Linked DNA regions of Homo sapiens: all the other regions are linked to region 1. The links are contacts of gene promoters, found by promoter capture Hi-C in human tissues and cell types (Jung and others, 2019). All regions are on one chromosome and are shown on one strand. The core of a region is centred on a gene start or on the middle of the fragment in contact, and the rest is flanking DNA. Distances in the headings are between cores, read along the strand shown. Region 1 holds the start of MRPL48 (mitochondrial ribosomal protein L48). Region 2 overlaps UCP3 (uncoupling protein 3). Region 3 overlaps FAM168A (family with sequence similarity 168 member A). Region 4 has its middle 14 kb from the start of DNAJB13.

Region 1 (2,708 bases), core at 141-2,640:
GGATTACAGGCATGCACCACTACGCCCAGCTAATTTTTGTATTTTTAGTAGAGACGGAGTTTCACAGTTTTGGTCAGGCTGGTCTCAAACTCCCGACCTTGTGATCCGCCTGCCTTGGCCTCCCAAAGTGCTGGGATTACAGGCATGAGCCACCGCACCCGGCCATGTATCTTATTAGATTGTATTTACCTGGACTAGACAAGGAAAGAAACTCTCTGGCTGCCAACCTGCCCTTTTGCAAACCTATAGTCACAGTCCCATAAAATAGATGAAGCACAGGCACGGAAATGAAACAGCTCACCACTTATATAACATTATGTTAACTAGGTACCTTCTTCCTGTCTCTGTTCCTCATCTGTGAAATGGGTATAATGATCCTCAGCCTCATAGGGTTATTGGAAAGACTAAATGAACCCATACACCCATAAAGAACCGACCTGGCACATACTAGCATTTGATTGATTTTTTTTTTCTTATTTAAAATTTCACTTCTAAAACCCCAATAGCATTTATTAGGCAATAATCAATCACTGTACTGGAGGAGGTATGCCTGGTCCATTATATTTCCAAGCATAATTAATTGTCGTATCTGTGTTACCTCAGTACTTTGCACACAATTCTGGTATTTCACTTACCATACTAGATACTAATTATTTGTTACTAGATACTAATTATTTTTTGCTATTATTTTGATTGAGTTCCTCAAGGACTGAGATCCTGACTAATTTATTCCAGCATCTAGCACAGGACGTGGAAATCTGACTTCTAAACTCAATTTAAGAGATGATTGGCTGGGCCTGGTGGCTCACGCTTGTAATCCCAGCACTTTAGGAGGCCGAGGCGGGCGGATCACCTGAGGTCGGGAGTTCAAGACCAGCCTGACAAACATGGAGAAACCTCATCTCTAGTAAAAATATAAAAATTAGGCGGGCGTGGTGGCGGGCACCTGTAATCCCAGCTACTTGGAGACAGAATTGCTTGAACCCGAGAGGCGGAGGTGGCAGTGAGCTGAGATCGTGCCACTACACTCCAGCCTGCGCAACAGAGCGAGACTCCGTCTCAAACAAACAAAAAAGTCAGATCTGTGCTAGACGCTGAAAGGAATTAATCAGACAGGATCTCAGTCTTTTAAGAACTTTCAAATACAGAGAAGAGGTGGTAACAAATCATTAGTGTATAATATTGTAAGCGAAAAATTAGAATTGTGTGCTAAGTACTGGGGTAACACAGAGATGGTAATTAATTCTTTCTGGAGAAACAGCAGTGAATGTGACAACCTGAGTGAGGGTGGAAAGCAGGAGAATTTCTAGACTCTGAATTTCAGAAGCTTCCGGAACTAAAATGATGTGGAAGTTGAGTGAGTCTCGGTGGGATATTGCTGCTGCACCTGGTCAAGGCCGTTCCTTCAGTGTTTTCAGACGCCCTGGGAACGCGGCTGCAGGGTCCGGTCTTCGGTTTGCACAGCTAGAGGCCGCGCAGCAGCAAAGGATGAGCGGAACCTTGGAAAAGGTAACGTAGATTCCACGCACGCGGGGCGCGGGGAGATGGCGGACGGTGCAGAGAGGGGAGATGGCGGAGGGTGCAGAGCGGGGAGGTGGCGGCGCGCGGACATCCGGGGATGAGACACTGGGGCGCCCAAGGTCCTTCCCAGCAGCACATGCGGCTGCCTGGCGTTGAAGGGGCTGAGCAGATTCCTTTCCACCCGGGGCGAACTCTGCCGAGCCGACCCGTGCCACGCCCACACCACATGCCACTCTCTCCACCCAGTTTCTGGAAAAGGGAGAGCTCTGCGATGGGAATCACGACACCAGGATACGGTCCCGATTAACTGTGTGACCTTGGGCAGGTCATTTTATATTTGCATTCAGTTATCAACTTCCAGAATTTTTTCTAAGAATGCAGTTTTGACTTGCTGAACTGATGAGGATGTGAAGCTACCTGGTAATAAGGAAACAGCAGTAATAAACTAGGTTTTTGTTCTTTTCTTTCTTTTTTTTTTTTTTTTTTTTTTGACGGATTTCGCTCTGTTGCCCAGGCTGGAGTGCAGTGGTGCGATCCCGGCTCACCACAACCTTCGCCTTCCGGGTTCAAGCGATTCTCCTGCCTCAGCCTCCTCAGTAGCTGGGACTACAGGCGCGGGACACCATGCCGGGCTAATTTTTGTATTTTTAGTAGAGACGGGGTTTCACTGTGTTGGCCAGGCTGGTCTCGAATTCCTGACCACGTGATCTGCCCGCCTCGGCCTCCCAAAGTGCCGGGATTACAGGCATGAGCCACCGCGCCCTGCAATAATTAACAACATTTTCGTTTCCAAAACCTTATTTAAGTGACTGTCATAAAACCGTATGAACCACTATAAATGTGTTCCTGGGCTTTCTCCCGTTCCCTTAACAGATTTAACAGATTTCATTTGTGCTCTTTCAATTGTATCATGCTGCTTAGATTAATGACTCATTTTAGCAATTTATATTAAAATTTTGTTTTAGGCATTAATTGTGGCAACTATATTTCCATGATTCATAGGTCAGCATGGTCGTTGCAGCTCATGGGTCTACCTGTGGTTACCTTGGGGCTGCCCTTGAATGTGTGAGGGCCCACGCCTCACTTCATCCTTTATGAAACAATTCACTTGTTCACCTTAGCCAGTTTGTAAGAATTTGGCCAAATATGGTGCCAAGATAATAGAAAAAAAAATCAGAAAGTTTCAA
Region 2 (2,708 bases), core at 103-2,602, 210 kb after region 1:
AGGAGTGTGGTGGGGAAATGGATGCACAGAACTTAGAAACTGGCCTCAGCTGGTAATCTGACCTTCTCATGAATTCACATCCCTGGTTTCCTGGAAGCATAAATTGAGGCCAGCGTTGAAAAGGTGTTCACACCGTAGCCTGGGAGAAACTGTCTCTCAGTCCTTGGAATCACAGAACTAAAGAGCTTCAGGTCATCTGGTTGAATCTCTGCCTTTAAGAAGTGGGGAAAGAGACTGGGAGCAGTGGCTCACGCCTGTAATCCCAGCACTTTGGGAGGCTGAGGTGGGTGGATCATCTGAGGTCAGGAGTTTGAGACCAGCCTGGTCAACACAGTGAAAACCCCATCTTTACTAAAAATACAAAAACTAGCCAGAGTGTGGTGGCACGCACCTGTAGTCCCAGCTACTCGAGAGTCTGAGGCAGGAGAATTACTTGAACCTGGGAGGTGGATGTTGCTGTGAGCCAAGATTGTGTTAGCCTGGGCACAGAGCAAGACTTTGACTCAAAAAAAAAAAAAAAAAAAAAAAAAACAGTGGAGAAAGAGATCTAGTATTTTGGCCTAGAAACCTCACAAGACTCACCAATCTCGTTTTTCTTTCTCCAAAAGGCTAGACTTGGCAGTTAGTAGGCTCCTGATCCCAGTCAAAATATCTCTTAGAATATTTTATCCTCCCTTTCTCAGAATCATCACCTGAATAGCATCCTCTGGGTAGGTGGTGTGTTAATATTGCCATATGGAAATTCATGGAAGATATAGTTCCTGGCCCTAGAAACTTACAAACTGAGACCAGGAGTTTGAGAGTGATTTGCACATGTCAGTCAAGTCAAAAGAAAGAGAAACTCTTTTTTCTTTTTTCGTTTTTGTTTTTTGAGATGGGGTCTCACTCTGTCACCTAGGCTAGGGTGCAGTGGTGTAAGCTCGGCTCACTGCAACCTCCGCCTCCTGGGCTCAAGTGATCCTCCCACCTGAGCCCCCCGAGTAGCTGGGACCGCAGGCACATGTCACCATGCCTGGCTAAAAAGGGAAACTTTTAATTTAATTCAATTCAATTTAATTTTTTTTTTTGAGACAGAGTCTCGCCTAGGCTGGAGTGCAGTGGTGTGGTTTTGGCTCACTGCAACCTCAGTCTCCTGGGTTCGAGTGATTCTCTTGCCTCAGCCTCCCGAGTAGCTAGGATTACAGGCACCCACCACCATGCCTGGGTAATTTTTTTTTTTTTTTTTGGTATTTTTAGTAGAGACAGAGTTTCACCATGTTGGCCAGGCTGGTCTCAAACTCTTGACCTCAAGTGATCCGCCCGCCTCGGCCTCCCAAAGGCGTGAGCCACTGCACCAACCGGAAACTTTTCAAAATATGGGTTTTATTTGAAAACCAAGCCAGACATTAAATCAAAATAATTTTTTTTTGCTTTTGTATGAACTCTCCAGTTTGTATACATAGATGATCTCAAGTTATAATTTAAATTTAGGAAAGTGCTGAGGATGAATAGATATTTGCTTTTTCCCAGGGTCTGGAGGGGTAGGAGCAGGGAAGCAGGGAAATGACATTACCGAGTGCCTCCTGTATGCCAACGATTTTTTGTTTGTTTTGTTTCAGAGAAGGAGTTATGCTCTGTTGCCAAGGCTGGAGTGCAGTCATTATTCACAGGTGCAGTCATGGCTCACTGCAGCCCTGAACTCCTGGGCTCAAGCAGTCCTCTCGCTTAAGCCTCCCAGGTAGCAGGTGCACACCACATGTCTGCTTTCCAAGGAGTTTTAGGTCAACCCTCACAACAAGCCTGTGAAGCAGCGATTGTTATTCCCACTTCTCTGGTAGCACACCAAGGTGCAAGGATTCCCTGTGGCTAGGTGGTTAGTAAGGTAGAATGGGGTGAGGTTTGAACCCAGTCCTGACAATCATCAGAGCTACGCAAGGCTGCCAAGAAGTAGAAAAAGATAGTGGCATTTTGGGTCCCCATTATCAATTCGAAAAATGTACAGTCTTAAGCTTGGAAGTCGGTCGTCTGGTTCAACCCTGCCTTTTGCAGAAGCAGGAGCTGGAACCCTAAAAAAATAAAGCTACTTGCCTGCAATTAAACAGGGTGAGAGGGGGCAGATGAAGTGTAGGCATGTGGGGCTGGATCTGGCCCTGCCCTGACACATAGAAAGCCTGAAATAGAAGTGAGAAAGGAAAATTCCAAGAAAGAAAAGGCAGAGAAGTGGCTGTTCTTACTCCCACACCTAAGGTGTGAATTCTTTTATTGAGTCATAATAATTTCCCGAGAATTCCGAGTCCTGCTACTTTAGGTTCTTGCCCAGGAATCCACCTCTTTTCCCCCAAGCCCAACAATCCTTTGAGGTACTCATGATTGAGCACGTGGTGGGGGGGGTGGGGAAGAGGCTGCATGGGGGTGGGGCTCCTGTGGCTTCACGTCATCCACTGTCACCTCTGGTCCCCAAGTCTCTGGATCCTTTGGTCTCACCTCTAGACAACCGTATCTTTCAAACCTTCTTCCCTGGCAACTCCTCTCTGTCCCGACAAAATCTCTCCCAAGGCATTGTCCTTGTAGTTAGATTTACACAGAGCTTTTGCTTTTATAAAGTGCGTTCATGCCCAGCTTCTCACTTGCATGTCATAGCACCCCTGGTGAGGTGGACAGGGAAGGGATGGCTCCCTCCATTTTGTAGGAAAGTGGGGGCTGCCCTCTTGATTCTTCAGTGTCGTCAG
Region 3 (2,708 bases), core at 149-2,648, 210 kb before region 1:
CCGCTGCATCCCACGCCCAGTGCCTACGTCCCGCTGCCGTCACTGTCGCCGCCACCATGCCCAAGAAAGGCTGAAGGGGATGCTAAAGGAGATAAAGCCAAGGTGAAGGATGAACCACAGAGAAGATCCACAAGGTTGTCTGCTAAACCTGCTCCTCCAAAGATAGAGCCCAGGCCAAAAAAGCCCCTGCAAAGAAGGGAGAGAAGGTACCCAAAGGGAAAAAGGGAAAAGCTGAGGCTGGCCAGGATGGGGATAACCCTACAGAAAATGGAGATGCCAAAACAGACCAGGGACAGAAAGCTGAAGGTGCTGGAGATGCCAAGCGAAGTGTGTGCATTTTTAATAACCATGTACTTCTGGTGACTGTACAGTTTGAAATACTATTTTTAATCAAGTTTTATAAAAATGCAGAATTTTGTTTTACTTTTTTAAGCTATGTTGTTAGCACACAGAACATGTCCTTGTTGTTTTGAGAGGAAGGGGCTTATGTCACTAATAAAATGTCTCCAAAGCTGGATTGATGTGGGGAAAACACCTTTCCCTTCCAGTTTTGAGAGACTTCCTCTTGGCTCCCAGGAGCAGGGATTCCCTGACTTTGACACACATGGCCACCTTGGCACAAAAGCTTTGTGGTATGGAAAAACAAATTTGTTTTTATGTCCTCTTCTCCCTTTCTACCTTTCAGCTAGACTTAACTCCCTTAAACCCAGACATCTGTTGGGACCTGACCCCTAATCATTGGTTACCAGTGTGTCAGGCAATCTGGACTTTCCAGTGATGCCACTGAGATGGCACCTGTCAAAAGAGCAGTGGTTCCGTTTCTAGATTGTGGATCTTCAGGTAAATTCTGTCACTTTCACTTCACTTCCTGAAAGTCAGGGTCAGCTTATGAAAAGTTGTTAAACAACATGCTAAATGTGAAATGTCAACCCTCACTCTAAACTTTCCCTGTTCAGAGCATCAGATGAAGACTTCATTGGGTTTTATAGTGGCTTTCTGATTTTTGGTAGGCCATTAAAGAAGGGAGTTTGAAAGTTGTTGTATACTGTTAACGATTGTCTGCACATGTCCTGTCTGAAATGCCATGATTGTTTACGGACAGTATCTTTAATAAAGCTGGATACAGTTTGGCTTGGAAAAAAACAGAATATAATACTTGTATACCACATTTATGAGCTAAAAAACAGAATACTTGTATATCACATTTATGAGCTTCTTTCAAATGTATTGAATTTCAAAGGTGGATATAGATATGACTGTCCCCACTTTACATGGGAAAAAACTGAGATTCACAGAGTACTTAAACAACCTGTCCAAGTCAGACAGCTAGTAAGTGGCTAAGCTGGGGTTCAAATTCAGTTCTTCTGACTCCATGTCCAGAATTGTCCACACATAAGACCTAGTCTTCTTTCAAAAATAAGCTCAGGTTACTCTTCCTCCAAGAACTCTTCCCTAAAAAAAGGTTTGAATACCCTGTCTCTGCTACTTATTTTATAACATCTATAACATTGAACTGTAACTTGGTTTTTGTTTTTTTTTTGAGATGGAGTCTCCCTCTATTGCCCAGGCTGGAGTGCAGTGGCGCAATCTCGCCTCGCTGCAAACTCTGCCTCCCGGGTTCAAGCGATTATCCTGCCTCAGCCTCCTGAGTAGCTGGGACTACAGGCATGCGCCACCATGCCCAGCTAATTTTTGTATTTTTAGTAGAGACGAGGTTTCACCACGTTGGCCAGGATGGTCTCAAACTCCTGACCTTGTGATCCGCCCACCTCGGCCTCCCAAAGTGCTGGGATTACAGGCATGAGCCACCGCACCCAGCCAACTTATTTGTTTATACCTTGTCTCTATTGCATCTGGAGCTCCTTGAAGACAGCAACTACACCTTACTCATCTCCGTGTATCATCAAAACCAACCTAACATAGAGGCTGATATCCATGTTGACTAAAATAATGCATAGATGCATAAGTGATTATTTTTGCTTGCTACAAAGACTCTAATCAGCAAAATATTTTGGGGAATCCTAATTAAAATTGCCTGCCAGAGGCCGGGCACCGTGACTCATGCCTGTAATCCCAGCACTTTGGGAGGCCAAGGTGGGTGGATCACGAGGTCAGGAGATCGATACCATCCCGGCTAACACAGTGAAACCCCATCTCTACTAAAAATACAAAAAAAATTAGCCAGGCGTGGAGGCACACACCTGTAGTCCCAGCTACTCGGGAGGCTGAGGCAGGAGATTGGCATGAACCCAGGAGGCGGAGCTTGCAGTGAGTCGAGATGGTGCCATTGCACTCCAGCCTGGGGAAAAAAAAAATTGCCTGCCAGAAACTACTAATGGCTTAATAGGGTAATTAAAAACCCACATTTCTTAAAGTCTCAATCTTTCTACCATCAAATAGTTAAGTCAAGTCTTATATTTCAGTTGTAAAAATCAAATACACAAGCATTTGATACAATTTGGTTTTATAGCATTCATTTTATATTATCTACAAATTAAAACTGACCAAAGGTTAATAAAGAGGAAACTTTGAAGCAGAAAAAAGAACTCTAGACTGAGTCAGAAAAGCAATCATAAGGTCCCGTCTTCTCCATTTACCAATGTGATCTGCATTCATTCCAAGTGAGATTCCAGGGATCCGTCATAAATCAAGTTCTTTCTGAGTCTCATTGTGTCTACTGTGTACACAGCTCCACTGACCCAGCTATG
Region 4 (2,708 bases), core at 85-2,584, 150 kb after region 1:
GCTCTTTAATTGACTTTTCTGTCCTTTGGCCCACCTCCAAAAGCGTGTTTTACTTACTCCAAATACACCTAAAGTAAGCCTTTTGCCTCAAATAATATGAAAGAGCTACTTCAAGGCAGGCCATCCTCTGTAACAGTGTGGTTTCAGAGACCCAGGAAAGTTCTTCAATATCTTAGGCACTAGTATCTGAAATGCCATCAGGGAACCAAGCTTTTCCTTCTGCAGTTAGAGATGAGATTTTTTTTGTTTGTTTTTTTAATTCAAGTAAGTTTATTTCTTTTTTTTTTTTTAAATGATTTAACTTTTATTCTGAAAAGCCTCCTGAATATTTATATCCCTAGAACGATACATAAGAATTGATCATCTTTCCTTATGGGAGGACTTTTTTCTTTTTTCTTTTTTTTTTTTTTTCTTTTTAATTTTATTTTTTTTTTAATTGATCATTCTTGGGTGTTTCTCACAGAGGGGGATTTGGCAGGGTCATAGGACACTAGTGGAGGGAAGGTCAGCAGACAAACAAGTGAACAAAGGTCTCTGGTTTTCCTAGGCAGAGTGTTTGTGTCCCTGGGTACTTGAGATTAGGGAGTGGTGATGACTCTTAAGGAGCATGCTGCCTTCAAGCATCTGTTTAACAAAGCACATCTTGCACCGCCCTTAATCCATTTAACCCTGAGTGGACACAGCACATGTTTCAGAGAGCACAGGGTTGGGGGTAAGGTCATAGATCAACAAGATCCCAAGGCAGAAGAATTTTTCTTAGTACAGAACAAAATGAAAATTCTCCCATGTCTACTTCTTTCTACACAGACACGGCAACCATCCGATTTCTCAATCTTTTCCCCACCTTGCCCCCTTTTCTATTCCAGAAAACCGCCATCGTCATCATGGCCCATTCTCAATGAGCTGTTGGGTACACCTCCCAGACGGGGTGGTGGCCGGGCAGAGGGGCTCCTCACTTCCCAGTAGGGGCAGCCGGGCAGAGGCGCCCCTCAGCTCCCGGACCGGGTGGCTGGCCAGGCGGGGGGCTGACCCCCCAACCTCCCTCCCAGACGGGGCGGCTGGCCGGGTGGGGGGCTGACCCCCCCACCTCCCTCCCGGACGGAGCGGCTGGCCGGGCAGGGGGCTGAGCCCCCCACCTCCCTCCTGGATGGGGCGGCTGGCCGGGCAGAGTGGCTCCTCACTTCCCAGTAGGGGCGGCCGGGCAGAGGCGCCCCTCACCTCCCGGACGGGGCGGCTGGCCGGGCAGGGGGCTGACCCCCCCACCTCCCTCCCGGACGGGGCGGCTGGCCGGGCGGGGGGCTGACTCCCCCACCTCCCTCCCGGACGGGGCAGCTGGCCGGGCAGAGGGGCTCCTCACTTCCCAGTAGGGGCGGCCGGGCAGAGGCGCCCCTCACCTCCCGGACGGGGCGGCTGGCCGGGCGGGGGGCTGACCCCCCCACCTCCCTCCCAGATGGGGCAGCTGGCTGGGCAGAGGGGCTCCTGGCTGGGCAGAGGGGCTCCTCACTTCCCAGTAGGGGCGGCCGGGCAGAGGCGCCCCTCACCTCCCAGACGGGGCGGCTGGCCGGGCGGGGGGCAGAGCCCCCCACCTCCCTCCCGGACGGGGCGGCTGGCCGGGTGGGGGGCTGACCCCCACCTCCCTCCCGGACGGGGTGGCTGCCGGGCGGAGACGCTCCTCACTTCCCAGACGGGGTGGCAGCCAGGCGGAGGGGCTCCTCACTTCTCAGACGGGGCGGTTGCCAGGCGGAGGGTCTCCTCACTTCTCAGACGGGGCGGCCGGGCAGAGACGCTCCTCACCTCCCAGACGGGGTCGCGGCCGGGCCGAGGCGCTCCTCACATCCCAGATGAGGCGGCGGGGCAGAGGCGCTCTCCACATCTCAGACGATGGGCTGCCGGGCAGAGACGCTCCTCACTTCCTAGATGGGATGGCGGCCGGGACGAGGTGCTCCTCACTTCCCAGGTGGGATGGCGGCTGGGCAGAGACGCTCCTCACTTTCCAGACTCGGCAGCCAGGCAGAGGGGCTCCTCACATCCCAGACGATGGGCAGCCAGGCAGAGACGCTCCTCACTTCCCAGATGGGGTGGCGGCCGGGCAGAGGCTGCAATCTCCGCACTTTGGGGGGCCAAGGCAGGCGGCTGGGAGGTGGAGGCCGTAGCGAGCCGAGATCATGCCACTGCACTCCAGCCTGGGCACCATTGAGCACTGAGTGAATGAGACTCCGTCTGCAATCCCGGCACCTCGGGAGGCCGAGGCTGGCGGAACACTCGCGGCTAGGAGCTGGAGACCAGTCCGGCCAACACAGCGAAACCCTGTCCCCACCAAAAAAACACGAAAACCAGTCAGGCGTGGCGGCGCGCGCCTGCAATCGCAGGCACTCGGCAGGCTGAGGCAGGAGAATCAGGCAGGGAGGCTGCAGCGAGCCGAGATGGCAGCAGTACAGTCCAGCTTTGGCCCGGCATGAGAGGGAGACCGTGGAAAGGAGAGGGAGAGGGAGACGGGAGAGGGAGAGGGAGAGGGAGAGGGAGACGGGAGAGGGAGAGGGAGACGGGAGAGGGAGAGCGAGGAGAGATGAGATTTTAAACACAGCACTCCTTTTTCCCTATATGAGTGATGTGAGATTCTTTTTTTTTTTTTTTTAATTGAGACGGAGTCTCGCTCTGTTGCCCAGGCTGGAGTGTAATGGCATGATCTCAGCTCACGGCAGCCTCTG

Evidence for each region. The method cuts DNA at HindIII sites, captures the fragments that hold promoters and counts their contacts. A contact is called where the count stands out against the background at its distance.
Region 2: a contact is called between a fragment that was not itself captured here and the fragment with the promoter of MRPL48 in region 1, in 1 of the 25 tissues and cell types used here (thymus).
Region 3: a contact is called between a fragment that was not itself captured here and the fragment with the promoter of MRPL48 in region 1, in 1 of the 25 tissues and cell types used here (hippocampus).
Region 4: a contact is called between a fragment that was not itself captured here and the fragment with the promoter of MRPL48 in region 1, in 2 of the 25 tissues and cell types used here (H1 embryonic stem cells and mesenchymal stem cells).

The regions. Positions count from the first base shown.
Region 1 is chr11:73,786,484-73,789,191 of GRCh38, forward strand. It overlaps MRPL48 (mitochondrial ribosomal protein L48), which reads left to right and starts at 1,391. Exons shown (of 8, transcript NM_016055.6): 1 at 1,391-1,509. The coding sequence starts at 1,489. RefSeq lists enhancers at 1,325-1,384, 1,525-1,604. The HindIII fragment of the contact is 15,089 bases long and covers 1-2,708 here.
Region 2 is chr11:73,998,077-74,000,784 of GRCh38, forward strand. UCP3 (uncoupling protein 3) reads right to left here. Exons shown (of 7, transcript NM_003356.4): 7 at 2,201-2,708. Among named protein-coding and RNA genes, the nearest start is that of UCP3, 9.7 kb to the right of the region's middle. The HindIII fragment of the contact is 6,388 bases long and covers 1-2,708 here.
Region 3 is chr11:73,580,197-73,582,904 of GRCh38, forward strand. The region is part of intron 1 of FAM168A (family with sequence similarity 168 member A); the gene reads right to left. It also overlaps the pseudogene HMGN2P38. Among named protein-coding and RNA genes, the nearest start is that of FAM168A, 17 kb to the right of the region's middle. The HindIII fragment of the contact is 9,693 bases long and covers 1-2,708 here.
Region 4 is chr11:73,935,191-73,937,898 of GRCh38, forward strand. No RefSeq gene overlaps it. Among named protein-coding and RNA genes, the nearest start is that of DNAJB13, 14 kb to the right of the region's middle. RefSeq lists an enhancer at 1,605-2,239. The HindIII fragment of the contact is 5,193 bases long and covers 1-2,708 here.